Linked DNA regions of Homo sapiens: all the other regions are linked to region 1. The links are contacts of gene promoters, found by promoter capture Hi-C in blood cells and fetal thymus (Javierre and others, 2016). All regions are on one chromosome and are shown on one strand. The core of a region is centred on a gene start or on the middle of the fragment in contact, and the rest is flanking DNA. Distances in the headings are between cores, read along the strand shown. Region 1 holds the start of S100A13 (S100 calcium binding protein A13). Region 2 overlaps UBAP2L (ubiquitin associated protein 2 like). Region 3 overlaps LTAP1 (lipid transport auxiliary protein 1). Region 4 overlaps TPM3 (tropomyosin 3).

Region 1 (6,448 bases), core at 1,183-3,682:
CACTGACTCTGAGTTTCCTGTCAGCAGCTGGGGGCCCCTTTTGGTCCTTCAACTCTGTTCTCTCCTGAACATGTCATTTTGGCTTCTTTGGGATATGCTCCCATTGCCTCTGCAAAATTATCCCTTCCATCTGGTGGGTGGCAGAAGGGGAGAGAGGAATGTCTGAGCCTTTTCCTTGGAGCCAGAGTTCCCAGGGAGTGGGAGAGGAGACCTGCAGGCGTTGTCCCTGCAACTGCTCACTCCTGGTTGATTCGGGGATAGTGGGAGCAAGGGGAATGGGGCTGCTGTGTGTTGGGGGAGAGAAAGGGCTGAAAGCATGCGGTCCTTTGAGTTCAAGGGGCTGGGAGAGAGTAGGAGAAGAAAGGAGAAAGGAGTGGTCTGTTGAGAGAGAAGACTGCCAAGCCGGGGGGCCTCTTTCCCTTGGCCCTGGGACAGTCTGGCCTTCCACAACCCCAGAGGGGGCAGCTCAGGTGTCTCGGATCAGATGTCCCCATCCTTCCCCAGGCCTAGGGGGCTGGACAATGGCCCCTGATCGAATGACATCCCAGTTCTTCAATGGGGCCCTTGTGAGTGTCATCTGAACTCCGGACCTGAGAAGCAGTTGTCACAGAGACATGGGGGAGATGGAACCCAAGCTGTGGCTGATGAGGGGATAAGGGGTGCTTGAGGGAGGGGTGCTGGTAGCTTGATTACCTGCTCCATGCCAGAGGGGCAGCTGGAGGTCACCTGGAGCCCTAAAGCAGCCTGGGATTTTACGTGGTGGCAGTTCTGAGAGGACTTGGGGGCAGGGGAGATGGGGAAACAAAGAGGTAAGAATGGGGGGAAAGAGGAGTCAAGAGGTCTGGGCCAAAAATGGGAGGAGGAGAAAGGGGAGGTCCTGTGGAGGTCGAGTTGGGAAGGGGCACAGCACCCTACATCTCTGCTTCCCCATATCATGGGAGCTTTGCCCTGCCACCCCCAGACTCCCCCGGGACCTGAGCTCTTGGCAAGGCAGGGTGGGGGTGGCAGAGACTAAGGCTGGCAGGAGAGGTGGGGGCAGAAACAGCTGTTGTATCTGCTCTCTTCTTACCCCACAGGAGGCGAGGCAGGGGAGGGCTGGGACCCTTCCCAACACCTGGGAGACAGAGGGGGCCTTGGCAGGGACTTGAGGGCTCCCTGTGGGAGGGCCAGGCGGTCAGGAAGCTCATGGTGGGTTCCCCACTGGCTTCCTCCTTTGCTGAGCTGCCAGCTCTCTCTCCGACCTTCAGTTCATTTGTCTCTCATCACCACCTTCCAAACCCTGTCTCCCCCAAATCCCAAACTGCCCTCACCCTGACTGACTCCTCCCAGATCCTCAGTGCTCCACAGTGCTATGGTCCCCAGCCTCTTGGAGCCCTTCTGAAGACCCCTCTCCCTGAAGCTGGCAGGCCAGGGACTAGCCCAGTGGGGCAGGGTACTCACGGTTGGCCTGGGCCTGAGGTGGGAGCAGGTTCTGGACAGATGGCCAAGGTTGCAAATGTGGCTGCTGGAGCTGTGTGTGGAGACCTGTCTTCAACAGTCCCTCCCCCGCTGACCCCCCCACCGACTCCACCCCTTCACAGACGAACACCCTGTGGGGCAAGGGGCCAGGAGCAGACAGAGGCGCCCTCTGTCTCCTGGGCTGGAACAGGCGGCCCTTGTCTCTTTCCCAGCCTTGCTTGCCCCGTTCCTTTCTCTCCAGGCAGCAGTGGATGGTGCAGGGGAAAGAGGTGGGAAGGAGGTCCTGGGAGGGACACTGGATGTCTTACCCCAAGCTGGGCCTTGCAGTACCTGTGGCTGGCTGTGCTGGTTGAGCCCGGTAAGGGGGGAATTCTGCTGAGGGGGTCTTAGTCTGTGGCTCCTCCATGGGGCCTCACTGAGAGGACCCTCAGTGAGAAACTTAGTCTTGGGAGTCTGAGAACCCACAGAGGGATTTCAATCCAGGACTCTTCTCTGGGGGTCTCAACCTGGATCCCCCTCTGTGTGTGGGGCCTCAGCCTGGGGTTCTCTGAGGGATCTTGGTCTGTAGCATCCTTTGTGGGATCTCATTCCAAGGGGCCTCTGTGTGTGTCTCAGATTGGGCCTCTCAGTGTTGAGCTCCCTTGATTGGTTGCCTCCCTCTTCCCCCCTCAGCATACACACTCCTGATTAGACATGGGTATGGTGGCAGCAGCCCCCAGTATTGAGAGGACTAGGACCCTGGGACCCCTGCCGAACGAGATCTGTCCAGGCAGCTCCTCTCCCTGACCAAGTGGGGGCGCTCGTGTGGCTGGCAGGGAGCCCGGGTCCAGACCTGAGGGCTCAGGGCAAGCGGCCTGATTGGGCTGTCTCTGGTCTTCAGAATCGACCACGGAAATTTGACACCTCCGGGCTTGGAAGCAGCTCTCTCCTCCTTCCCCGCTGCTTATAAACCTCAGCCCTGAGGCTCCAGCTCACTCTACCCCATCTCCTTGCCGGGTGAGTCTCATGGCTGACCCTGGAGGGAGGCTGGAGATCATTTTTTCTTCCTGGGCTCCCAGGTCCCTCCCCCAGAGCCAGCTCAGACAGGAATTCAGGAAGGAGCTTTGGATGATCGAGCAACAGCGCGTGCAGGAGTGTGTGACGGGGTGGACAGAAAAGAGAATGCCTCTTCCAGCCCCACCCGCCGCACCCCAGGGGGTTGTGAGTGCCTGTACTAAACCCGTCCTGGAGCAGGGAGTCAGAGACGCCCCGTTCCAGGACCCTTGTCACCGGGAGACAGGAGCGGGGAGGATCTGTGGGGTCCTGGGTTCAGCACTCTGCCCTGCTGCCGCTGAGGAGAGGTAAGGGTGGAGCGGGGCAGAGAAAATGGGTCTGTTCAGACGGAGCCAGCTCTGACCACAGGGGACATTTGCCAGACCCTGTGCTTCTCTGCTGGGAGGAGCGGTTAGAGTGTGTGTGGGCGGATGCGAGTGGCCGGAGACCAGGGCCCAACATAAACAAGCTTTGGAGACAAACAACCTTATGACCTGTGAGTCTGGGTGAGACAAGAAGGGATTCTTGAGACAGACACGCCACAGAGGGGCCACCAGACTTGAAGGACTCCAAGAAGGACCTTCAACTGAAGACCTCCTCTCAAGTAGAGGGGTCTCCAGATCGAGGGATCACCACAGAGGGGTCCCTAAGCCACAGACATTTAAAAAGGATCCCGGATTGTGAGACCTACAGAAGAGGGGGTTTCTGGAGCTGAATCTCCTGCCCCCACCAAAACTGAGATGCCGTTGCCTGGTCTGCTGCCCCAAGCTCAACCCCTGTCCTCTCCCTCTTTCCCCATATGCCCCCTCCAGGCTGAGACTGATGTGATAACACCAAGGCAGGGACCTTCTGAACCATTCCTGCATCTTGGGGCTCCCTGACTCTCCCTCTCTGCTCCTTCTCTCTTCCACAGGTCAGCCCTGACAAAGGTCAGCTAGCCCCTTGAGGACATCAGCTTTGGCCTCAGGGTCCTAATGGCAGCAGAACCACTGACAGAGCTAGAGGAGTCCATTGAGACCGTGGTCACCACCTTCTTCACCTTTGCAAGGCAGGAGGGCCGGAAGGATAGCCTCAGCGTCAACGAGTTCAAAGAGCTGGTTACCCAGCAGTTGCCCCATCTGCTCAAGGTAGGCAGAAGTCTGGGACTGAGATTTTGTGAGATGATGATTATGGGACACTGTGTTTAGGACGTGATGGTGCCGAGTACGGTGAGGTGACCACAAGAAAGGGTGTGGGTGGCTGCATGTGTCAATGGTTGCAGGTTTTCTTTTGTTTTTTCGAGACAAAGTCTCACTCTGTTGCCCAGGCCGGAGTGCAGTGGTGTGATCTTGGCTCACTGCAACCTCCATCTCCGGGGTTCAAGTGATTCTCCTGCCTCAGCCTCCTGAGTAGCTGGGATTACAGGTGTGTGCCACCACGCCGAGCCTATTTCTGTATTTTTAGTAGAGACAGGGTTTCACCAGGTTGGCCAGGCTGGTCTCGAACTCCTGACCTCAGGTGATCCACCCGCCTCGGCCTCCCAAAGTGCTGTGGTTACAGGCGCAAGCCACTGCGCCTGACCCGGTTGTGAGTTTTCTTGCCTGGTGTGTACATGTGTGTGTTTGTGTGTCCATGCATATAATTAGGTAAGCAAAGATACTATGTGCCAGTGGGAGTATGGTCTTGTGTCAGAAGATGCTGTTGGGTTCTTGTGTATGCTCTGTGCCTTTCTGGTCTAATTTCCCCAAGACAGGACTGGACCCAGAGCTGGCTTCCAGGAGATTCACAGACTGTCAGAGCTGGAAGGAGGCCAAGAGAAAACACAGTCCGCATTCCTCACTTCACATATATGGAAACTGAGGCCTAGCAGTGGAAAGGGGCTTATCAAAAATGAAAACACAGCCAAATTCATGGAGTCATAGACCTCAGTGTAGGGGGTCTGTGGGTGCATCTGTGAAGACTCCCTACCCGCTATGGGCATCCCCTTACTAGGGTGTAAGAGTCATTCCTTCTCTCGCACTCACAGGCTGGAGTCAGGTCTTAAATTTCATCGACTCTGGCCTCGAAGAGGCCTGGTCATTCTGGCTGTTGACAGTTTGTTTTACATCCTTTCTGAAAATCCACAGGCACGTTGAAGTGTGTGAATATGGACTCCTTGAACACAGTGAGTCTCTGAAACTCATGGTCTTTCATCTGCAAAATCCCCTACAACTTCCAACTTCTCAGACTTTTTTTTGAGACAGGGTTTCTCACTCTGTTGCCCAGGCCACTGTGCGATCACAGCTCATTGCATCCTTGACCTTCCGGGCTCAGGCAATCCTCCTGCCCCAGCCTCACAAGTAGCTGGGACCACAGGCGCATGCCACACTGCCTGGCTAATTTTTTCTTTTTTTGTGACAGAGTCTCACTCTGTCACCGAGGCTGGAGTGCAATGGTGCGATCTTGGCTCACTGCAACCTCTGCCTCCTGGGTTCAAGTGGTTCTCTTACCTCAGCCTCATGAGTAGCTGGGATTACAGGCAACCGCCACCATGCCTGGATAATTTTTGTATTTTTAGTAGAGACGGGGTTTCACTATGTTGGCCAGGCTGGTTTCGAACTCCTGATCTCAGGTGATCCACCTGCCTCGGCCTCTCAAAGTGCTGGAATTACAGGCGTGAGCCACCGCGCCTGGCCTAATTTTTAAGTTACTTGTAGAGATGTGGTCTCTCTGTGTTTCCCAAGCTGGTCTCAAACTCTAGGCCTCAAGTGATCCTCCTGCATTGGCCTTCCAAAGTGTTGGGATTACAGTCATGAGCCACTGTGCCCAGCCAGACGTTTCCTTTTTCATCTTTTTTACTGGAAACTTCAGGTTCTCTCCTGAAGGGACAGCATTCCTTATATCCTTGTCAAGCAGTGATTGTGGTTTTTTTTTTTTTTTTCCTAAATTCAACTTCCTCTGGGCCTGGAAATGGAGGAAGTGACCTCTCTGCTTTCCATTATCTCTAGATTTTAGTTTCTTCTTCTTTCTAAGACTTCCCAGCGCCTTGGAAGATCATCTGCCACCTGCCATTCTTCTTATTGCGCTCCTTACAGCTCTTCAGCTCCTGGCTCACTGTTTTCTTCTCATCACTGCTTCTGTTGTTATTCTCAGTGGCTTCAGCATCCGCACAGACAATTCATCCAACATCTGGGCCTTTCAATTTTCTCAACTCCTCATTTCCAAAAAGATTTGTCTTCTTACATCTCAGCATCCCACTCCTCTGTTCATGCTTTAGACTGTGTCATTAACAAAATAACGCACAACTTCCAAAATCTTGATTTCAAGTTTCCCTTTATCTGCTGACCTCCTCCTGTCATTCCAGTTCTGTTCCCCTCTCTAGCTTCTCCACTTCAGCACTTCCCTGACTCCTCAGGTACCTTCAGTCTCTCGACCCTCTCACTTTTGCATCTTCCATCAACATCCCTCGGGTCCTCATTGCCCTTCCTCCTCACCTCAGGTTCTAAGGCTTCTAATTGTAATCACTGCCTTAACCCCGTTGATTCTGTCTCTCTCTGTTCTCAACCCAGTTAATCCACCATTTCACCTATAGTAACTTGCCAGTTAAATCCACTGTTCTGCACCTGCACTTGGATAGCTGAATCTGGCTGGAGAAAAATGCATAGCTTTGTTGACTTGTCTCACTTTAAATCTATAACCACAGACCCCAAAAGGGACCCTTGGCAATACCTGGCGGTTCTGTGTTTCCCTGGTTGATTCATTTACCAGTTCTTTCAGATAATTATTTCACAATTTGTCTTCTCTCCTCAAAGCTCAGTACATCTTTCCACGTTCTCCCTTTTCCTGAGAAGTTTACTCACTGAGAAGTTCAGGACTTCGAGACCAGCCTGGCCAACATAGTGAAACCCCATCTCTACTAAAAATATATTTAAAAAATTAGCTGGGCATGGTTGTGTGCGCCTGTAATCCCAGCTACTTGGGAGGCTGAAGCAGGAAAATT
Region 2 (6,448 bases), core at 1,855-4,354, 600 kb before region 1:
TCTATCTAATTCAGTCACTTAGCATATTAGTCAAAGGACCAAGTTATTGGTCCCTATCTTTCAAGTGTTATTTCCTGGGCTAAAAAAAAAAAAGAAAAAACTAATTTCCTTCGGAGTCAGTGACCCACAACTTTTTATAGCATCATTCATACCAAATAAAGCAAAAAAGAAAATGTTTCTAAAAGTTACCTATGAATTCAGAATGAATGAGCAGCATTCTACTCTTGGGCACGTTCTCTAATCTCACCCATAAATTTAGGAGGAAAACAACTAGAGCTACCTACCTACAGACACACACACACACACACACACACACAGCAATTTCATTTAAAAGATCAGGCTGGGTGGCCAGGTGCGGTGGCTCACACCTGTAATCCCAGCACTTTGGGAGGCCAAGGCGGGCAGATCACAAGGGCAGGAGTTTGAGACCAGCCTGGCCAACACGGTGAAACCCCGTCTCTACTAAAAATACAAAAATCAGCCAGGTGTGGTGGTGCGCACCTGTAATCCCAGCTACTCAGGAGGCTGAAGCAGGAGAACTGCTTGAACCTGGGAGGTGGAGGTTGCAATGACGCAAGATCGCACCACACCACTGCACTCTAGCCTGGGCCACAGAGCAAGGTTCCATCTCAAAGAAAAAAAAAGAAAAAAAAGGGCCAGGCGCGGTGACTCACGCCTGTAATTCCAGCACTTTGGGAGGCCGAGGAGAGTGGATTGCCTGAGGTCAAGAGTTTGAGAACAGCCTGGCCAACATAGTGAAACCCTGTCTCTACCAAAAATACAAAAAATTAGCTGGGCGTGGTGGCAGGCACCTGTAATCCCCGCTACTCGGGAGACTGGGGCAGGAGAATCGCTTGAACCCAGGAGTCGGAGGTTGCAGTAAGCTGAGATCCTGCCATTGCACTCCAGCCTGGGCGACAGAGGAGTCTCCATCTCAAAAAAAAAAAAAAGAAAAAAAGGTAAGGCTGGGTGTGGTGGCTCACACCTATAACCTCAGCACTTTGGGAGGTCGAGAGATCAAGGCAGGAGGATCATTTCAGGCCAGGAATCTGAGACCAGCCCAGGCAACCAAATGAGACTCTGGTCTCTACTAAAAATTTAAAAATTAGCCAAGTATGGTGGTACACTCCTGTCACCCAAACCACTTGAAGGCTGAGGCAGAATGATCACTTGAGCCCAGGAGATTGAGGCTGCGGTGAGTCGTGGTTATGTGACTGTACTCAGTCTAGGTGACAGAGTAAGACCCTGTCTCAAAAAGTATATAAAAATAAAAATAAAAGAAGACCAAACGACAGTCGCAGCCCTGACCCCAAGAGATACTGATTATACAAAGCCTTCCATCCAGGTTTTACTTGCAGTGTTCTCCCTATATTTCCTAAATTGGTATCAGCCAATTTAACTTTCCCCAGTGAAAAATACATATCTATGATACATTCCTAACTGCAAGAGGGAAAGTCTGTGGTAAGGAAAATAAGCTTAACACCCTTGCAAAACACTCTTCCTCAGGAAAATGAGCATTGTAAACTTAAAAGTTTTTAAAAAAATGCATACCTTGATTTACACATATTTTTGTAAAAAACCTGTACAAATGGAACTTCCAGGACAAACACCAACACTATCAGATTTCTTTCCTTTTTTTTTTTTTGGAAACTTAGTCTCACTTTGTCACCATGCTGGAGTGCAGTGGTGCGATCTCGGCTCACTGCAACCTCCGCCTCCCAGGTTGAAGTGATTCTCCTGCCTCAGCCTCCCAAGCAACTGGGACTACAGGGCACCACCAGGCCCAGCTAATTTTTGCATTTTTAGTAGAGATGGGGTTTCACCATGTTGGCCAGGATGGTCTTGATCACTTGACCTCGTGATCCGCCCGCCATGGCCTCCCAAAGTGCTGGGATTACAGGTGTGAGCCACTGTGCACAGCCTCAGATCTTTATTATCTTACCATCAAACTCAATCATGGCCCTAGTGCTCAGTAACAGCTACCTAATGTCTAATCACTTTCAGAATATGGGCTGAGTATTAGATAATACAAAATTATTAACCTTATCAGGATTGATAATAGTATTATGGTAATGTAAGAGTATCCTCCTTTAAGGGAAGCATGTTGAAGAACTTAAGGGTATCAAGTATTATGTCTACAACTTCCAGATAATTCCAAGTGTCCACTGATGAGTAAACAAAATGCCACATATATGTACAACGGAATATTAGCCTTAAAAAGGAATGAAATTCTGACCCATGCCACAATATGGACGAACCTTGAAACATTACACTAAGTGAAGTAAGTTAGACATACAAGGTCAAATATTACATGATTTCACTTACATGAGATCTCTAAAACAGGCAAATTCATAGAAATAGAAAACAGGGCCGGGGATGGTGGCTCACACCTATAATCCCAGCACTTTCCGAGGCCAAGGAGGGTGGATCACTTGAGGCCAGGAGTTAGAGACCATCCTAGGCAACATGGCAAAACCCTGTCTCTACTAAACATACCAAAATCAGCCAGGTGTGGTGGCACACACCTGTGGCCCTAGCTGCTTGGGAGGCTGAGGTGGGAAAAACGCTTGAGCCCAGGAGGCAGAGGCTGCAGTGAGCCGAGATCTCACCATTGCACTCCAGCCTGGGCAACAGAGCAAGACTCCATCTCAAAAAAAAGAAAAAAGAAAAAAAAAAAAAAGCCAAGTGTGGTGGCGCACACCTGTTGTCCCAGCTACTAAAGAGGCTGAGGTGGGAGGATTGCTTGAACCCAGGTGTCCATGGCTGCAGTGATCATGCTACTGCACTCCAGCCTGGGTGACAGGGCAAGACCCCATCTCTTAATTCATTTGTTTTAAAAAGATTACCTACCCAAGACTTGGTAGTTTGTTGCTGCCTACTCTTCCAACCCAAGCCTATTATACATTACAGTTAGTGGGTCATTTTATGCTCACAGTAAGTTAGAACAACCCTGTAGCTAAATATACACCAGGAACACTCTGGAAGCTAGACTCAAAACAGCTTTTAGAATTTATGCTGCTATCTCAAAACCTGGCAAGTTTCAGGAAACTGTAACCTTTCTCCCTCCTCTGTATGCACATCTGTTGCTGGCACAAGATGGGTCAGGAGAAAGAATTACTATTATCTTCCCAAAGGCGACTTCAGTTTTCTGAAATGATCTCACCCACCCAAATACATCCAATATCCCTGGGAGCTGACTTTGCTTCCCATTGGTTTCACTAGTAGCTAGTTTATTCGTAACATAAACCTATATTCTCCAGCTTATTTTCCTTTTTGATACTGTATAACATCAGCCTTATAGCACTAGACAGAAGATGCTGGAAGGTAAGATAAAATGTGATTTGCGAAAAAACATTCAGACTTTTAAAAAAACATAAATAGCCCCACCTGATTCCCCCCATAAAATCTGGAGACAATTATTCTAGAGTAAACCCAAAACAAATCAAAAGCATATCTTGATTGGCCAGATAGTAAATATTCAAATAAGGTCAACAGTGTAAAATTTAATCCAGGATAACACTTTTGAAGAAAAAACCCACCAATTTAAATTCAATTGTTTTTAAAAGTTTTCCATTATTATTTCCCATTGTCTCAAAGAAATTGACAAACCTCCTGCATTTAGCTGGAGTGACTCTGTAGTATCAGAAAGCTGTTGTATCTGAGGCCAGGTTTCATGGCTCACGCCTGTAATCCTAACATTTTGGAAGGCCGAGGCAGGAGGATTGCCTGAGCTCAGGAGTTCAAGACCACCCTGGGCAACATAGTGAAACACTGTCTCCACTAAAATACAAAAAATTAGCCAGGCATGGTGGTGCATGCCTGTAGTCCCAGCTACTCGGGAAGCTGAGGCATGAGAATTGCTTGAACCCAGGAGGCAGAGTTTGCAGTGAGCCGAGATGTACTCCGGCCTGGGAGACAGAGAGAGACACCGTCTCAAAAAAAAAAAATTAGCTGGGTATGGTGGTGAATGCCTGTAATCCCAGCTACTCTGGAGGCTGAGGCACAGGATCACTTGAACCTGGGAGGTGGAGGCTGCAGAGAGCAGGTTCACGCCACTGCACTCCAGCCTGGGCAACAAGAGCAAGACTCTGACTCAAGAAAAAAAACAAGTTGTTATCTGTAAGGATGAATTTTGATATCTATTCCAACCAAAGAGCCCCAGTATAAGACCCAATAAATGAAAATGATTTCAAAATAATACACTGGGCCAGGTGCGGTGGCTCATGCCCATAATCCCAGCACTTTGGGAGGACGAGGCGGGCAGCTAGCTTGAGTCCAGGAGTTTGAAATCAGCCTGAGCAACATGGAGAAACCCTGGCTCTACTAAAAATGGGAAAATCAGCTGGACATGGTGGCCCATGCCTGTGGTCCCAGCTACTCAGGAGGCTGAAGTAGGAGGATCACCTAAGCCCAGGACGAGGAGGTTGCAGCATGTCAGTGTACTCCAGCCAGGGCCACAGAGTAAGACCCTGGCTCAAAATAATAATAATAATAATAATACACTGCTCATTAAAAAAACAAAATTTCTCTAGTAAGCACTGCAGGAACATTCTGAAGATCAATAAGGCAGTCAGAGGATTACAATTTGGTACAAACATAAGACAAGCATAAAAACAGAATTCTCATGAAGTGGGAAGGAGAAGTGAAAGCGACTTGTCTAAATTCCAGGGCAAGAGATCCTCCAAGATATCCCCTATCATCTCCAGGGATGGTCAGCAGGCTACAAAGCTTGTTTCTCTGCTACCTCAACAGAAGGAAGTTCAGGCAATGAAACAGTAGTGTGCAATGCGAAGCTGATATTGAGGGGAATGTCCTGAATTCAGAATCAAATATGTAAAATAAATAAAATAAAATAAAATAAAAAGAAAAAAAAACAGAATCAAGTATAGTGTGTGACTTTGTTCAACAGCAATATCCAAGGCTATCAAATCGCACCTCTAATTCAGCCTAACCCCACAGCCTGAAAACAGTCACTAGCCTGGAATAAATAATTTATTCCAGGCCAATTAGCAGAGACTGATTTCACTGTTTTCTCCTATGAGCATTATCCTCATAAAAAGGATGTAGTACACATAAATTTTAAGTATTTATAACCTGTGGTGAACAATCTCCAAGAAAGTTCCCAACTTTACTTCAAGAAAAAGGTGCTCTGCTTTAAGGTATGTTGCCATTTGCTACTTTTAGAACATTACTAGCCTCCCAATTGAGGACCCATGTCCTAGAACACTCTATAAGCACTCTACCGTGTCTGGGTTTCCTTCCAGAAGAACATTGATAGCTCTGTTGACATCTCCATTGCAGTCATGCAAAGCAATCACACATTCATCCTGGTTCTTGCCTGTAATATCAATCAACTGAAAGAGAAAAAACAGCAACCATCATGAACAGGCTTATGCTCACACTCCCAATGAAAGGAAACTAGGTGAAGGGAAACGCTATCAGTTGAGTTTGAAAAAAACAAGTTTAAAAAGCAAAAGATGAGGGCTGGGCACAGTGGCTCACGCCTATAATCCCAGCACTTTGCAAGGCTGAGGTGGGCGGATCACCTGAGGTCAGGAGTTTGAGACCAACCTGACCAAAATGATTAAACCTGTCTCTACTAAAAATACAAAAATTAGCTGGGTGTGGTGGCGGGCGCCTGTAATCCTAGCTACTTGGGAGGCTGGGGCAGAAGAATTGCTTGAACCCAGGAGGCGGAGGTTGCAGTGAGCTGAGATTGCGCCACTGCACTCTAGCCTGGACCACAGAGCAAGACTCCGTCTCAAAATAAAAAAAAAAACAAAAAAGAAAGAAAGAAAAATGATGTAGAATTTGCCTAGCAGGTTTTCCAGAACCACCCCCCCAACCCCCGCCAAAAAGGAAAACATGTAGAATTTTGGTATTCTATTTCCAAAAGCCAAATATTAACATCTGTGGTTCAGGGATGAGGTCAAAAGTATTTACAAAGCAATTAAGCATCAAATACAGAATCAAACTCTGAAACACACAGGCTTCAGCATGAATTTCCACATTTCCTATACCCACAACTGCTCAGTTTCTACAAAATGGCATCAGCAACAGGCAAGAGGTTAAAATTAAGATAAAATTTCCAAACAAAGTATCTATCCAAAGGGCTACAATAGGCTGGGTGCAGTGGCTCACACCTGTAATCCCAGCACTTTGGGAGGCTGAGGCAGGCAGATCACTTGAGGTCAGGAGTTCGAGACCAGCCTGGCCAACATGGTGAAACCCCATCTTTACTAAAAATACAAAAAATTAGCCAGGCATGGTGGTGAGCGCCTGTAATCCCAACTACTCGGGAGGCTGAAGCACGAGAATCGCTTGAACTCGGGAGGCAGAAGCTGCAATGAGCCAAGATCATGCCACTGCACTCCAGCCTGGGTGACAGAGTGAGACTTCATCTGAAAAAAAAACAAAAAACAAAACAAAGGGCTACAAAAAATTAGAG
Region 3 (6,448 bases), core at 2,042-4,541, 580 kb before region 1:
TCCTGTAATACCAGCTACTCGGGAGGCTGAGGCAGAAATCACTTGAACCCGGGAGGTGGAGGTTGCAATGAGCCGATATCATGCCATTGCACTTCAGCTGGGGTGACAAGAGCATGACTGTCTCAAAAAAAAAATAAAAATTAAAAATTAAAAAAATCTATTTTTACTACCACTTAAAGTATTAGTAACCATGTCTGAAACAAAGGCCATCGCTATAGAGTCAGCTGTTGAGCATTTGTGTCACAGGAGAGGATTCATGGCTTTTGTTTGGGAATGTTTTTAATACACACTAAACATAGTCTCGTATTTTCATGCAAATGTTAAAATCAAAGTTCTTGGCGAGAAAGGAAAGCCAATCTAGAGTAAAAACTTAGGCCGGGCGCAGTGGCTCACACCTGTAATCCCAACACTGGGAGGCCGAGGCAGGTGGATCATCTAAGGTCAGGAGTTCAAGACCAGCTTAACCAACATGGTGAAACCCCATCTCTACAAAAATACAAAAATTAGCCGGGCATGATGATGTGCGCACCTGTAATGCCAGCCACTCAGGAAGGTGAGGCAGGAGAATCGCTTGAACCTGGGAGGTGGAGGTTGCAGTGAGCCAAGATCGTGCCATTCCACTCCAGCCTAGGCGACAGAGCGAGACTCCATCTCAAAATAATAATAAACAGTTAGTTACCAGCCATAAAAATAATCTGTTTTCTGCTATGTTGAATATTGCTCTTTTTCAAGAGCTTAAGGGGTATGTCTCTCCTGTCTTCTCTCTGTCCCTAAAAATGAGCTACGTTGTCTTAAAAGATGAAAGGGCCAAGGCCTGGAGCAGTGGCTCACGTCTATAATCCCAGCACTTTGGGAGGCCAAGGTGGGCGGATCACTTGAGGCCAGGAGTTGGAGACCAGCCTGGCCAACATGACAAAACCTCATCTCTACTAAAAATATAAAAATTAGCCTGGTGTGGTGGCACATGCCTGTAATCCCAGCTATTCCAGAGGCTGAGGCAGGAGAATTGCTTGAACCCAGGAAGCAGAGGTTGCAGTGAGCCGAGATTGTGCCACTCCAGCGTGGGTGACAGAGCAAGAGTCTGTCTCGAAAAGATGAAAGGTCCTAGTAAAAACTGCTTAGAAGGCCAGCTGCAGTGGTTCGTACTTGTAATCCCAACACTTTGGGAGGCTGAGATGGGTGGATTACTTGAGCCCAGGAGATTGAGACCAACCTGGGCATCATAGTGTAACCCTGTCTCTACTAAAAATAAAAAAATTAGGCCAGGTGTGGTGGCTCACGCCTGTAATCCCAACACTTGGAGAGGCCGAGGCGGGCGGTTCATGAAATCAGGAGAGCGGGAACATCCTGGCTAACGTGAAAACCAGTCTCTACTAAAAATACAAAAAAAAAAAAATTAGCCGGGCGTGGTGGCGGGTGCCTGTAGTCCCAGCTACGTGGGAGGCTGGGGCAGGAGAATGGCATGAACCCAGGAGGCGGAGCTTGCAGTGAGCCAAGATCGCGCCACTGCACTCCAGCCTGGGCAACAGAGCAAGACTCCATCTCGAAAAAAAATTAGCTGGGAGTGGTGGCGACCACCTACCTGTAGTCCCAGCTACTCAGGAGCTGAGGTGCGTGTACCACTTGTGCCTGGGAGGCAGAGGTTGCAGTGAGCCAAGATCATGCCACTGCCCTCTAACCTGGGCAACAGAGTGAGACACTGTCTCAAAAAAAAAAAAAAAAAAAACTGCTTAGAGCACTGATGAAAATGAACATGTAGAAAGGCTGGAAAAGGGCATTTGGTCTAGAAGTCAGCAGAAGCCTGTTCAAAATTCACTTTCTTTGAAAGATAAATACTAGATGATTCCAGTTATATGAGATACCTAGGTAGTCAAACTCAGAGACAGAAAGTAGAATGATGGTTGCAGGGGCTGGAGAGTGGGGGAAATAGGGAGTTGTTCACTGGGTATAGTTTCAGTTTTGCAAGATGAAAATGTGGAGGTTGGTTGCACAACACTGTGAATATACTTAACACTACTGAACCATACATTTAAAAATTCTTAAGATGGTAAATTTTATGTTACATGTATTTTACCACAATCTTTTTAAAAATTATTTCTGAAGGCCAGGCATGGTGGCTCACGGCTGTAATCCCAGCACTTTGGGAGGCTGAGGCGGGTGGATCACCTGAGGTCAGGAGTTCAAGACCAGCCTGGCCAACATGGTGAAACCCTGTCTCTACTAAAAATAGAAAAATTGGCTGGGCATTGTGGTATGCACCTGCAATCCCCAGCTACTCGGGAGGCCGAGACAGGTCGCTTCAACCTAGGAGGCAGAGGTTGCAGTGAGCCAAGATTGTGCCACTGCACTCCAGCCTGAGCAACAGAGAAAAAGACTCCATCTCAAAAACAAAAAATTATGTTTGATTTGTAGTTTCTAGGAATGTTCATTGGGTTTAGTGAAGAGTATAGGCTTTGAAATCTGACAAACTTAGGTTTGAATCCCAGGTCTGTCACTTAACTAGTTTTGTGACCTCATACAAGCTAATTATTGGACCCTTAGTTTCCTAATCTGCAAAACAAGGTGATACCTATATTGGGGATACCTGTCTCTGAAAAAAAAGCTTGAGCCAGAGGCAAGAACTCTGGGAAATTGGTTTCTCTGCTGCTAGTTGTTTTTGGTATGAGTAGGTGTGTGTCAGGGTACCCAAACAGGGCCTTTATTCTGTCACCCAGGCTGGAGTGCTGCTACTTTTTTAGGGTGTGTGTGAGAGAGAGAGACAGGGTCTCAGTCTGTCGCCCAGACTGGAGTGCAGTGGCACATTCATGGCTCACTGCAGCCTCGAATTCTGGGTTCAAGCGATCCTCCTGCCTCAGCCTCCTGAGGAACCAGGACTACAGGTGCTTGCCACCATACCTGGCTAATTTTTTGCAGAGATAGGGTCTCACTTTGTTTCCCAGACTGGTCTCAAACTCCCCTGGGCTCAAGCGATCTCTGGCCTCTGCCTCCTGAAGTGCTGGGATTACAGGTATAAGTGACCATGCCCAGCCTCTCTGCTACTTTTTTTTTTTTTGAGATGGAGTCTTGCTCTGTCACCCAGGCTGAAGTGCAGTGGCGCAATCTTGGCTTGCAACCTCTGCCTCCTGGGTTCAAGTGATTCTCTTGCCTCAGCCTCCCGAGTAGCTGGGATTACAGGCACCCGCCACCACTCCCAGCTAATTTTTGTATTTTTAGTAGAGACAGGGTTTCACCATGTTGGCCAGGCTGGTCTCGAACTCCTGACCTCAAACAATCCACCTGCCTGGGCCTCCCAAAGTGCTGGGATTACAGGCGTGAGCCACCGCGCTCAGCCTCTTGTATTTCTAAGCTACTAGATGGGGTTTTAGTAACTAGTTTACAAAATAGGACAGATAGGACACAAATAACTATTTGTGACTATTGCTGCATTTATGGCCTGGGATAAGCCCTGATTTCTTTGATTAGTCCTCATTCTGTCAATGACCTCCCCTCTCTGTTCTTCAGGGTTAAAGCACGAATTGGGAGCTCTCAGCGACATCACCAGTCAGCAGCCAAAGACCTAACTCAGTCCCCTGAGGTCTCCCCAACAACCATCCAGGTGACATACCTCCCCTCCAGTCAGAAGAGTAAACGTGCCAAGCACTTCCTTGAATTGAAGAGCTTTAAGGATAACTATAACACATTGGAGAGTACTCTGTGACGGAGCTGAAGGACTCTTGCCGTAGATTAAGCCAGTCAGTTGCAATGTGCAAGACAGGCTGCTTGCCGGGCCGCCCTCGGAACATCTGGCCCAGCAGGCCCAGACTGTATCCATCCAAGTTCCCGTTGTATCCAGAGTTCTTAGAGCTTGTGTCTAAAGGGTAATTCCCCAACCCTTCCTTATGAGCATTTTTAGAACATTGGCTAAGACTATTTTCCCCCAGTAGCGCTTTTTTCTGGATTTGCATTCAGGTGTTATTCTTAATGTTTCTGTCAAAGCTTCTTAAAAATCTTCACTTGGTTTCAGCCATAGTTCACCTTCCCTGTTCCAGGTTTATTTAATTCCAAAGGTGAGAGTTGGAGTGAGATGTCTTCCATATCTATACCTTTGTGCACAGTTGAATGGGAACTGTTTGGGTTTAGGGCATCTTAGAGTTGATTGATGGAAAAAGCAGACAGGAACTGGTGGGAGGTCAAGTGGGGAAGTTGGTGAATGTGGAATAACTTACCTTTGTGCTCCACTTAAACCAGATGTGTTGCAGCTTTCCTGACATGCAAGGATCTACTTTAATTCCACACTCTCATTAATAAATTGAATAAAAGGGAATGTTTTGGCACCTGATATAATCTGCCAGGCTATGTGACAGTAGGAAGGAATGGTTTCCCCTAACAAGCCCAATGCACTGGTCTGACTTTATAAATTATTTAATAAAATGAACTATTATCAAATAAAACGTATGAATCAGTCCTTTATAGTTGTCTTTTAATAAAACAGGCATTTGATAATGTTATCTGCACATTTCTAACAGGGTATAGGGCATGAGGATTTGCCTCCAGAGAATTGGTGGGACTGTGTGCATACCCTGGACCTACGACCATACACATACTCCTTGGGACCCTAGCACAAGAAATCCTAAAATCAGGACTGTGGCCCTTGCTCATAGATGCCTGTGTCACCAACAGAAGGCTGCAGAACAAGGATTCTCTCAAGGTTTCTGGGGCAACAGGCCAGGTGGCCAATCAACTCCTAGGCCCAGGGTTATTGTTGGAGGTGTAAATGTTACTATGACTACTGAAACCTTGGTTACTGAACTAAACAGAGGAGCCTGTCAGTCTCCTCAGACTGTATCAAGCAAATCTATAGACATGTCTGTGGAAAAGATGACAAAAGTAGAAGAGGTATGCAGAGTTGGAAGGAGGGGCTGGGTTGAAGTTTGATGAAGTTTCCAGATCAATTTACTATAAGTGCATCTTTTACTGGGAAAGGCTTTTGATGTAACAAGGGTATAATGTAGTTAGTAACAGGAGTGGGAGGCTGTGTCTAGTACACAGTAGGTATTCAAATATGTGTTCTATCCAACCCCTGCGTGTTTTCTTTGATCCATTCTGAAAGTAGAGCTTTCCTCTCCCTATTTCCCCCCAGGAAATTGCTTTCTCAAAAAGGTCTATGTGGCTGGGTGCGGTGACTCACGCCTGTAATCCTATCACTTTGGGAGGCTGAGGTGGGCGGATCACCTGAGGTCAGGAGTTCGAGACTAGCCTGACCAACATGGAGAAACCCCATCTCTACTAAAAATACAAAATTAGCCCGGCATGGTGGTGCATTCCTATAATCTCAGCTACTCGGAGGCTGAGGCAGGAGAATCGCTTGAACCCGGGAGGCGGAGATTGCGGTGAGCCGAGATCACGCCACTGCACTCTGGCCTGGGCAACAAGAGCAAAACTCTGTCTCAAAAAAAAAAAAGGTCTATGTCTCTCATTAGAATAGAGGTTCTGGAGACTGAGGCAGATCAACAGAACTACCTTTTCTTGCAGAGTTTTCAAAAGGCCATGGGACTTAAGAAGACGGTCGACAGGTAATCTGCTTCTATCCCCTCCCTTTACCTTTGAGCTTGACCTTTCCACTCTGCTGTCTTCCCTGAGCCACCTCCCAACTCTGCTGCATCTCTTTAGGGGCTCATCAAGAGGAAAACAGATGCGGAAGGGGTGAGAAGCAGCCTTGTCCTCAAAGCAAATGAGATCAGCCTCTTAGTGCCTACTAGGTTAGGTGATATAGATTGGTTTTTATTGTCCCCTGCCTCATTCTCTGGAGAAAAATTGAAGCATGTTTTTATTTTCTTTTTTTATCAAGAATTCAAGTATTTGTTGCCTGGCTTTGTACTAATTATGTGGTTGGTAGTGCAGTATTTGTTGAACCAGTGAATGAGAAGATTCACAAGACTGGGCTACGTATCCTTTTCACCCTGATGAACTTTTGAAAAAACTGATGCAGCCGGGCGCGGTGGCTCACGCCTGTAATCCTAGCACTTTGGGAGGCTGAGGCAGGAGGATTGCCTGAGCTCAGGAGTTCAAGACCAGCCTAGGCAACATGGTGAAACCCTGTCTCTACTAAAATACAAAAGAAGTTAGCCAGGCATGGTAGTGTGCGCCTGTAGTCCCAGCTACTCGGGAGGCTGAGGCAGGAGAATTGCTTGAACTTAGGATGCGGAGGGTGCAGTGAGCCAAGATCGCACCACTGCACTCCAGCACTCCAGCCTGGGTGACAGAGCAAGACTCCGTCTCTACAAAAAAAAAAAAAAAAACACTGATGCAAGCCTGGCATGGTGGTTCACACCTATAATCCCAGCACCTTGGGAGGCCGAGGCAGGGGGATTGCTTGAGCCCAGGAGCTCGAGACCAGCCTGGGCAACATAGGAAAACCCTGTCTCTACCAAAAAAATTAAAATTAGCTAGGTGTGGTGGTGCATGCCTG
Region 4 (6,448 bases), core at 1,006-3,505, 550 kb before region 1:
GATCCACCCACCTCTGCCTCCCAAAGTGCTGGGATTACAGGTGTGATCCACCGTGCCCAGCCTATTCTAGTGATTTCTTTAAACGTCTTTCTGTTTAAAAGTGGCTGATTAGTTTTAGTGTAAGCCATAAGATTTTCCAAGGTCTAGGGTGCAGTCTAATAGATGGAGCTGATACGAGTTGAGGCTTTGTTTTGGAGGATCTTGAGAGAGTAAAGTAACTGTTGCTAAAATTCAAGATCCAGTGAAAGTACTCATGTGGTTTATTCTTTGTTCTTTGTTCTTTCCCTTGGTAAGTTTTTGTTTTTGTTTTTCTTTTTGGCTGCTCCTCTGGGAAATAACTGAGAATGTTTTTGGGAGGGGGAGGGGTGGATTTCAGAAAAGGATGGTAATTGGGGGACAGCTGCCCTCCAGTTTAAATACTTAAAGATTGTTGGAATACTCACTTATTTTTATAAGTGGTCATGGAGATGCTGGGATGGGAGCTTGTTGTCTTCCTCAGACACCTTTTTCTAGGTAGATTTTTTTCCTCTGTTCAGTTTGCCAACAACTTCTTATTATCTGTGCAAGTGAGATGGACTGGCTGGGTGACTCTTTATGGCCAGTGGCACTTTCTCATCTCCTTTGTTCTGGAGACCAGATAGCTTTAAAGGGGAAGACAGAGGAACTGGCCATGTGTTGAGCTGCAGAATCTTAGGCTCAGTATTTAAATATGGACATTCTAGGAGTAGTTCTAAGGTGGGTGATTCCTGCCTCCCATCCCCCCTCTTTTTTTTTTTAGATGGAGACTTGCTCTGTAGCCCAGCCTGGAATGCAGTTGCACGATCTCTGCTCACTGCAACCTCCACCTCCCAGGCTCAAGTGATTCTCCTGCCTTAGCCTCCTGAGTGGCTGGGATTACAGGCATCCACCACCACACTCGGCGATTTTTTTTTATTATTTTATTTTTTTATTTTTAGTAGAGATGGGGTTTCACCATGTTGGCCAGGCTGGTTTCAAACTCCTGACCTCAAGTGATCTGCCTGCCTCAGCCTCCCAAAGTGCTGAGATTACAGGCATGAGCCACTGCGCCTGTCCTGGGGTGATGTTTCTTAAGCTACTTTCACTCAGAGCCTGCCAAATTTGCTTATTGAGCTGAGGTCTAGTGAGGAAGTCCTCAGAATGGGGAAGTAGAGTTATAGTTAAATATTGATGAAATCATTTCTTCTACTCCCCAGCCTGAAGAAGCTTAATCTTTTGACTTTCTGCTGCTCTGCTGAACTTTGAACCCCTACTGAGGAGGAGACACCTGTGGGAAGGGAGGGGGGTTGCTTGGGCTACCTGTTATCCTCTTAAGGCATTCTGGAATGTGGGTTTTGCAGACTCCTCCCTCCTCTGGAGCGGGAAACTGCACTCTCTGATGGTATCTCATGCTGTTAGTGGGATTGTCACTTAATTATTTTCCTGGTTACTTTGTGTGAACATCCAAGCCACCCTTGTTGGGAAGCTAGATGAGTCTAAAACTGAGACACTGGTGTTCTAGGATCCATCTTTCTTTTCTGCTCTCGGCCTGGAAATTGGTCTTTTATAATGTAGCACCTTGTCAAATTTACTTTCAGTTCTGTATTTCCTTTTTACTTCTGTCTAAATGGAAACAGATGGCAACATAATGTTTAAATGCAGTCTTTTTCCTTATCTCTTTTTTTTTGTGGTAGTGGTGATAAAAATACATGTAAAATTTACCATTTTAACCATTTATAAATGTACAGTTCACCTTATCTGTTTTTAATAACTCTCTCCTAATTGTCCCTGATATTTTTCTCTTTTTAATTTTTTTCTAGTCTAAAAAACTTAAGAGGCTGGGTGCGGTGGCTCACACCTGTAATCCCAGCCCTTTGGGAGGCCTAGGCGGGTGGATCTGAGGTCCACCTGTGGATCTGATGAAACCCCATCTCTACTAAAAATACAAAAAATTAGCTGGGCATGGTGGCGCATGCCTGTAATCCCAGCTACTTGGGAGGCTGAGGCACAAGAATTGCTTCAACCCTGGAGGCGGAGGTGGCAGTGAACCAGGATTGGATCATGCCACTGTACTCCAGCCTGGGCGAGTATCGGCACTGGGGGAGTGAGGGGTCAACTGCGGGAGTGTAAGGTCAGCACACTACCTCTGCCTCAAAAAGAAAAAAAAAAGTAATAACAAAAACCTTAAGAGTACTACCGAGGGAGTGGGCTTTGATTCTGGCCTTAATCCTAAATTCCTAGTCTCTGGAGAGGTTAGAATGCTTGACTGTTGTGTGGTTCTCTTCTATTCGTGGGCCTGGTGGACTAAGCAACCTTTCTTTGGTTGCTTTGCTTTCCTTTCTCTTTCCCCAGTACTAGAACACACACTCACAGGGGAGAGGCAGATAGCCCTTTACCCCTGCTTAGGCTCCGCCTTTGTTTACTGTGGGGCAGATAGCTCTACTCCCTTCCAACTTGCCTCCCCTTTGGTGAAGTTTAAATTCCCCAAGGACACGGTATCTCCCTGGGTAATGCATTTGTGAGCACAGTGAACTCAAATAGTCCTTTACTCACAGGGCTCAAGCCTAACTTTCTGATACTCTTTCATTTGAATTTTATCTGTGGCTTTTATCTAATAAGAGAAACCCCAGTGTGGCAGAAAGCCAGATTTAGGCTAATCCCCTTCTGTCCTTGGCCCTGTTCTGCCTGAGAGTACCATCACACTGTCAGTTTCTTGCCTGGAGGGGTTGACATATTTGGGAAATCTCTTTGGAGTGGAGGATAGCCGAAGGTGTTGTCAGCCATCTGGTAATGTGACTGAGTTGCTGGGGCATTCTACTCTTTCCCCAATCCCTCACCCAGGATCTTTGCTTCCTGGGCAGTGGAGAATCCTATTATTACTTGAAGGGAAGAACCACAGAGTACTGTATATCCTCCACACTGGGCAGAGATAGGTCAGCTGAAACACCAAAACCGCATCTGGATGGGCATGCTAAAACCTAAGATGATTAGGAAAGTGCAGAGCTTAACGTTTCCCAGGGCCACAGGTAGCCTGGTCTGCAAAAAGTAGGCCTGTTCAATCTCTTGGTACCCATTGGTATTATTTGACCTGAAAGGGACAGGCACTGTGCATAGACTCATGAGGGAAAAGTCAGCTTGTCTTCCTTGTTCCTTTAAACAAAGTATCAGATCTTGATTCTGCAGGCTTTTGTTTCATTGTAAAGAGAACTGATCCTCTGTGCTAGGAGAAAAGAGAAAGGCAAGGTCCCATTCCCTACCACTCCACCCTGGAGGGGGTCTCTGAAGCTTTTTCTAGGACTCCCATCTCAGGTTCTGCTTTTGATACAGGCTTGTTCATGTGTGCATGCTCTTAGGAGGGCACCAAGATGTGTTTTCCCCCTCTCCCTTTTCAGCCTTGCTAAGAATTCTATTGTAAATGCTGATTTGTGGGAGAAACTGCCTGAGCCAGCTTGCTGTCATGGCAACTGTACACCCCCGCCCCATAGCCTGTTATCTTCTACTCCAGTTTGGGTAACTACTGGTGAGCTGCATGATGTCTTACATTTCATGAGCTTCCTCTAAATCTAGTTGTATTTTTCGTCTGAGGGGGGTAAGTCATTTTACTAGCAGTGTCTCCTAGGTCTTGCCTGATAGCCTGACTTGCTCTTGATCCATGGCCTTGTTGGGTTTGTGAGGAGAAATGTGTGTTGTTACAGAGAACATCTATTTTTCTGGAAGAGGCAGAAGCAGAGAATACTTGTCTTTGTGGTGTTTTGAGTAGTGTAGTTAGAGGCACAAATGGTTTCTTAATGATTTCAGCTTATGTTGACTTCTCGATTTTCTTTGCCTGGTGGCTAGATTGTAGCCCCAGCCCTCTGCTTCCCTTCCTAGTCTCTTCAGCTTCTCATGTTTGTATGTGGAAGTTTTTGTGCCAGTCCTGATGGTTAAAAAGGAGTCTTTTGGTCTATATTCTTCCTCATCGGAGCTAGTGGCCCAGGCTGTTTCTATAGCTGCACCAACTCCTGCCTGCCAGGAAGAAATCAGGGTAATAGAATTCAGGCACAATCTGGGCTATAGAAGAGAGATCGTGTTTACCAGGCACTTGGATAAGCATCTGAACTGGGTGGTGTGCGGGGCATATTAAATTCTTGTATACTGTTGCAGTCAGGGTACCTCCCACCAGTAAAGGTAGCGGGGAGGCAGTCATGGAAAGAGGTTTTCCTACCATTAGAATTTATCCATCCACCTGCAGGCTGCCTCCTTCTTTCCTTGTTTCTTAGAGAAAACCCATCCAGGATGGGTTTACTTGGACTCTAACCTATATACTTCATTGTGAGATGGAGGCCAGGGGGAAGATTGTCGCTGTATTAGAGGGTGAAGCTAAGGGGATGGCTGGAGGAATAGAAAGGAGAAAATTCAGAAATTTGGAGGAATGGTAGTGGGTGTGGTGGAAATGTTCTTTCTTTTTTGTAAAGCTATCAAAGCAGATAATTTTAGCCAGAAGCAGCTCCTTGTAGCCAACTTAAAAAAGGAGTACGGGGGCACAAGTTGAAGGGCTGGTGAGTAGGCATCCCAACAATATTCCATTCTTTTGCTTTCCAGTCTGGAAGGCTATTCTGGAAGACATTCCCTTGGCTAGTTATTCTTCTGATGTGTTAGGGTAAAGTGATCATAGGAATAACGGTTTGAGTTAAGCAGCAATTAATAGGTAATCCAGGATTCCCTCTTTTTTTTTTTTTTTTTTTGAAATGGAGTTTCACCGTGTTGCCCAGGCTGGAGTGTAGTGGCGCAATCTCAGCTCAGTACAACCTCTGCCTCCCGGGTTCAAGGGATTCTTCTGCCTCAGCCTCCCGAGTAGCTGGGACTAGAGGTACGCGCCACCACACCTGGCTAATTTTTGTATTTTTTATTAGAGTCAGGGTTTCACCATATTGGCCAGGCTGGTCTCAAATTCCTGACCTCATGATCCACCCGCCCCAGCCTCCCAGAATACTGGGATTACAGGCATGAGCCACCACACCCAGTCAGGATACCCTCTTTAAGAAACCTTGCTTTTTTTTTTTTTTTTTTCCTGCTTTATGAGACACTTGAAAGGTTACTGAGGATGAGACATGCCTCCAAGCCAGAGCTCAGGCAGAAGGAACCCTTCATTGACTTTCTTTTCTGACTCCAGTGTGTTGAGGAATTTGAACTGAGTCCAGGAAGTGGGTGGTACTAACTCACTGGGCTGGGCAAGGAACTGAGTTTTAAAACACTCTTCCTGTGGAACATATGGGAGTTCGTTGATGGGAAAGGGAGGAAATATATATATATAAAGTTATGTCTGCTAGATCTTTTAACAGCTGAGCTAAGACAAGTTCTACCCTGCGAGACTCTGGCTTTTTCATGGTAGTCAACCCTGATCTTAATGTCATAGTTATTTCTTCTTTTCTCCATGCCTCTGCTTCCCTTGTCCATTCTTTCCTTCAAATGCAGGCTGAGGCTGAGGTGGCCTCCTTGAACCGTAGGATCCAGCTGGTTGAAGAAGAGCTGGACCGTGCTCAGGAGCGCCTGGCCACTGCCCTGCAAAAGCTGGAAGAAGCTGAAAAAGCTGCTGATGAGAGTGAGAGGTGTGTAGGGAAGCCTGATGGAGTGTGGATTTTAAAAGTTCATAATAGTTCTGATCAAGATTTCCTTATAGACCTGTTTTCTAAATAGCAATTCTGGCTGCGTGTGATGGCTCACGCCTGTAATCCCAGCACTTTGGGACGCTGAGGCAGGAGGGTGGCTCAAGCCCAGGAAGTTGGGGCTACAGTGAGCTCTGATTGCGCCACTGCACTCCTGGGTGACAGAGAAAGACCCTGTGTCAATCAGTCAATAAAAATAAAATACTAACTCCATCACACAGGATCTCCTTTCTATTCTGCATATTCTGTCCCCTTGAAGACAGTAAGGGTAACTTAGATGTTGTGACCCTTTTGTAATTGGTATTTCCTTACAAATTGGCCTAATGATCCTTAAAATGGGATCACCAGTATGACTTCTACTTTCTGGATCATAAGCTTCTATTTGTGAGATTAATTTCTCTAAAACAGAGGTTCTCTAAGTAAGGTCTCAGACCAGCAGCATCAGCAATACTTGGGAACTTGGTAAAAATTCACATTCTCAGCTCCTATGCTGATCTGCTGAATCAGAAACTTTGGATGTGGGGCCTGGCAATCTGTTTTTAGTAAGCCTTCTCAACGCTGGTTGCATTATTAGAATCATAGGTAGGGGTGAGGGGGGAAATCACTGGGGAATTTAAAACTGGATGCTTAGATCTCATCCCAGTTCCATTAGAATCAGTTGCAAGAGGGGTCTGGGCATTGATGTTTTTAAAGTTCTCCAGCTAATTTTTTTTTTTTTTTTTTTTTTGAGACAGAGTCTCGCTCTATAGCCCAGGCTGGAGTGCAGTGGCGCAATCTGGGCTCACTGCAAGCTCCGCCTCCCGGGT

What was found. Contacts are between HindIII fragments. The CHiCAGO score rates a contact against its expected background, and 5 or more counts as called.
Region 2: a contact is called between a fragment that was not itself captured here and the fragment with the promoter of S100A13 in region 1, in 2 of 17 cell types (naive B cells and total B cells). The highest score is 7.1, in naive B cells.
Region 3: a contact is called between a fragment that was not itself captured here and the fragment with the promoter of S100A13 in region 1, in 1 of 17 cell types (total B cells). The highest score is 6.0, in total B cells.
Region 4: a contact is called between a fragment that was not itself captured here and the fragment with the promoter of S100A13 in region 1, in 2 of 17 cell types (M0 macrophages and erythroblasts). The highest score is 7.4, in M0 macrophages.

The regions. Positions count from the first base shown.
Region 1 is chr1:153,623,489-153,629,936 of GRCh38, reverse strand. S100A13 (S100 calcium binding protein A13) reads left to right here and starts at 2,432. Exons shown (of 3, transcript NM_001024211.2): 1 at 2,432-2,454; 2 at 3,404-3,617. The coding sequence starts at 3,465. It overlaps S100A1 (S100 calcium binding protein A1), which reads right to left and starts at 1,503. Exons shown (of 3, transcript NM_006271.2): 1 at 1,441-1,503. RefSeq lists enhancers at 535-1,358, 2,185-3,010. The HindIII fragment of the contact is 11,281 bases long and covers 1-2,961 here.
Region 2 is chr1:154,227,521-154,233,968 of GRCh38, reverse strand. It overlaps UBAP2L (ubiquitin associated protein 2 like), which reads right to left. Exons shown (of 27, transcript NM_014847.4): 4 at 5,244-5,354. Among named protein-coding and RNA genes, the nearest start is that of UBAP2L, 9.8 kb to the right of the region's middle. RefSeq lists an enhancer at 285-784. The HindIII fragment of the contact is 3,253 bases long and covers 1,478-4,730 here.
Region 3 is chr1:154,204,702-154,211,149 of GRCh38, reverse strand. LTAP1 (lipid transport auxiliary protein 1) reads left to right here. Exons shown (of 7, transcript NM_001098616.3): 7 at 3,502-4,430. The coding sequence ends at 3,697. CFAP141 (cilia and flagella associated protein 141) reads left to right here and starts at 4,817. Exons shown (of 4, transcript NM_001010979.3): 1 at 4,817-4,875; 2 at 5,512-5,552. The coding sequence starts at 4,843. The HindIII fragment of the contact is 1,373 bases long and covers 2,605-3,977 here.
Region 4 is chr1:154,175,252-154,181,699 of GRCh38, reverse strand. It overlaps TPM3 (tropomyosin 3), which reads left to right. Exons shown (of 10, transcript NM_152263.4): 3 at 5,452-5,585. Among named protein-coding and RNA genes, the nearest start is that of TPM3, 14 kb to the left of the region's middle. RefSeq lists an enhancer at 511-1,507. The HindIII fragment of the contact is 2,058 bases long and covers 1,227-3,284 here.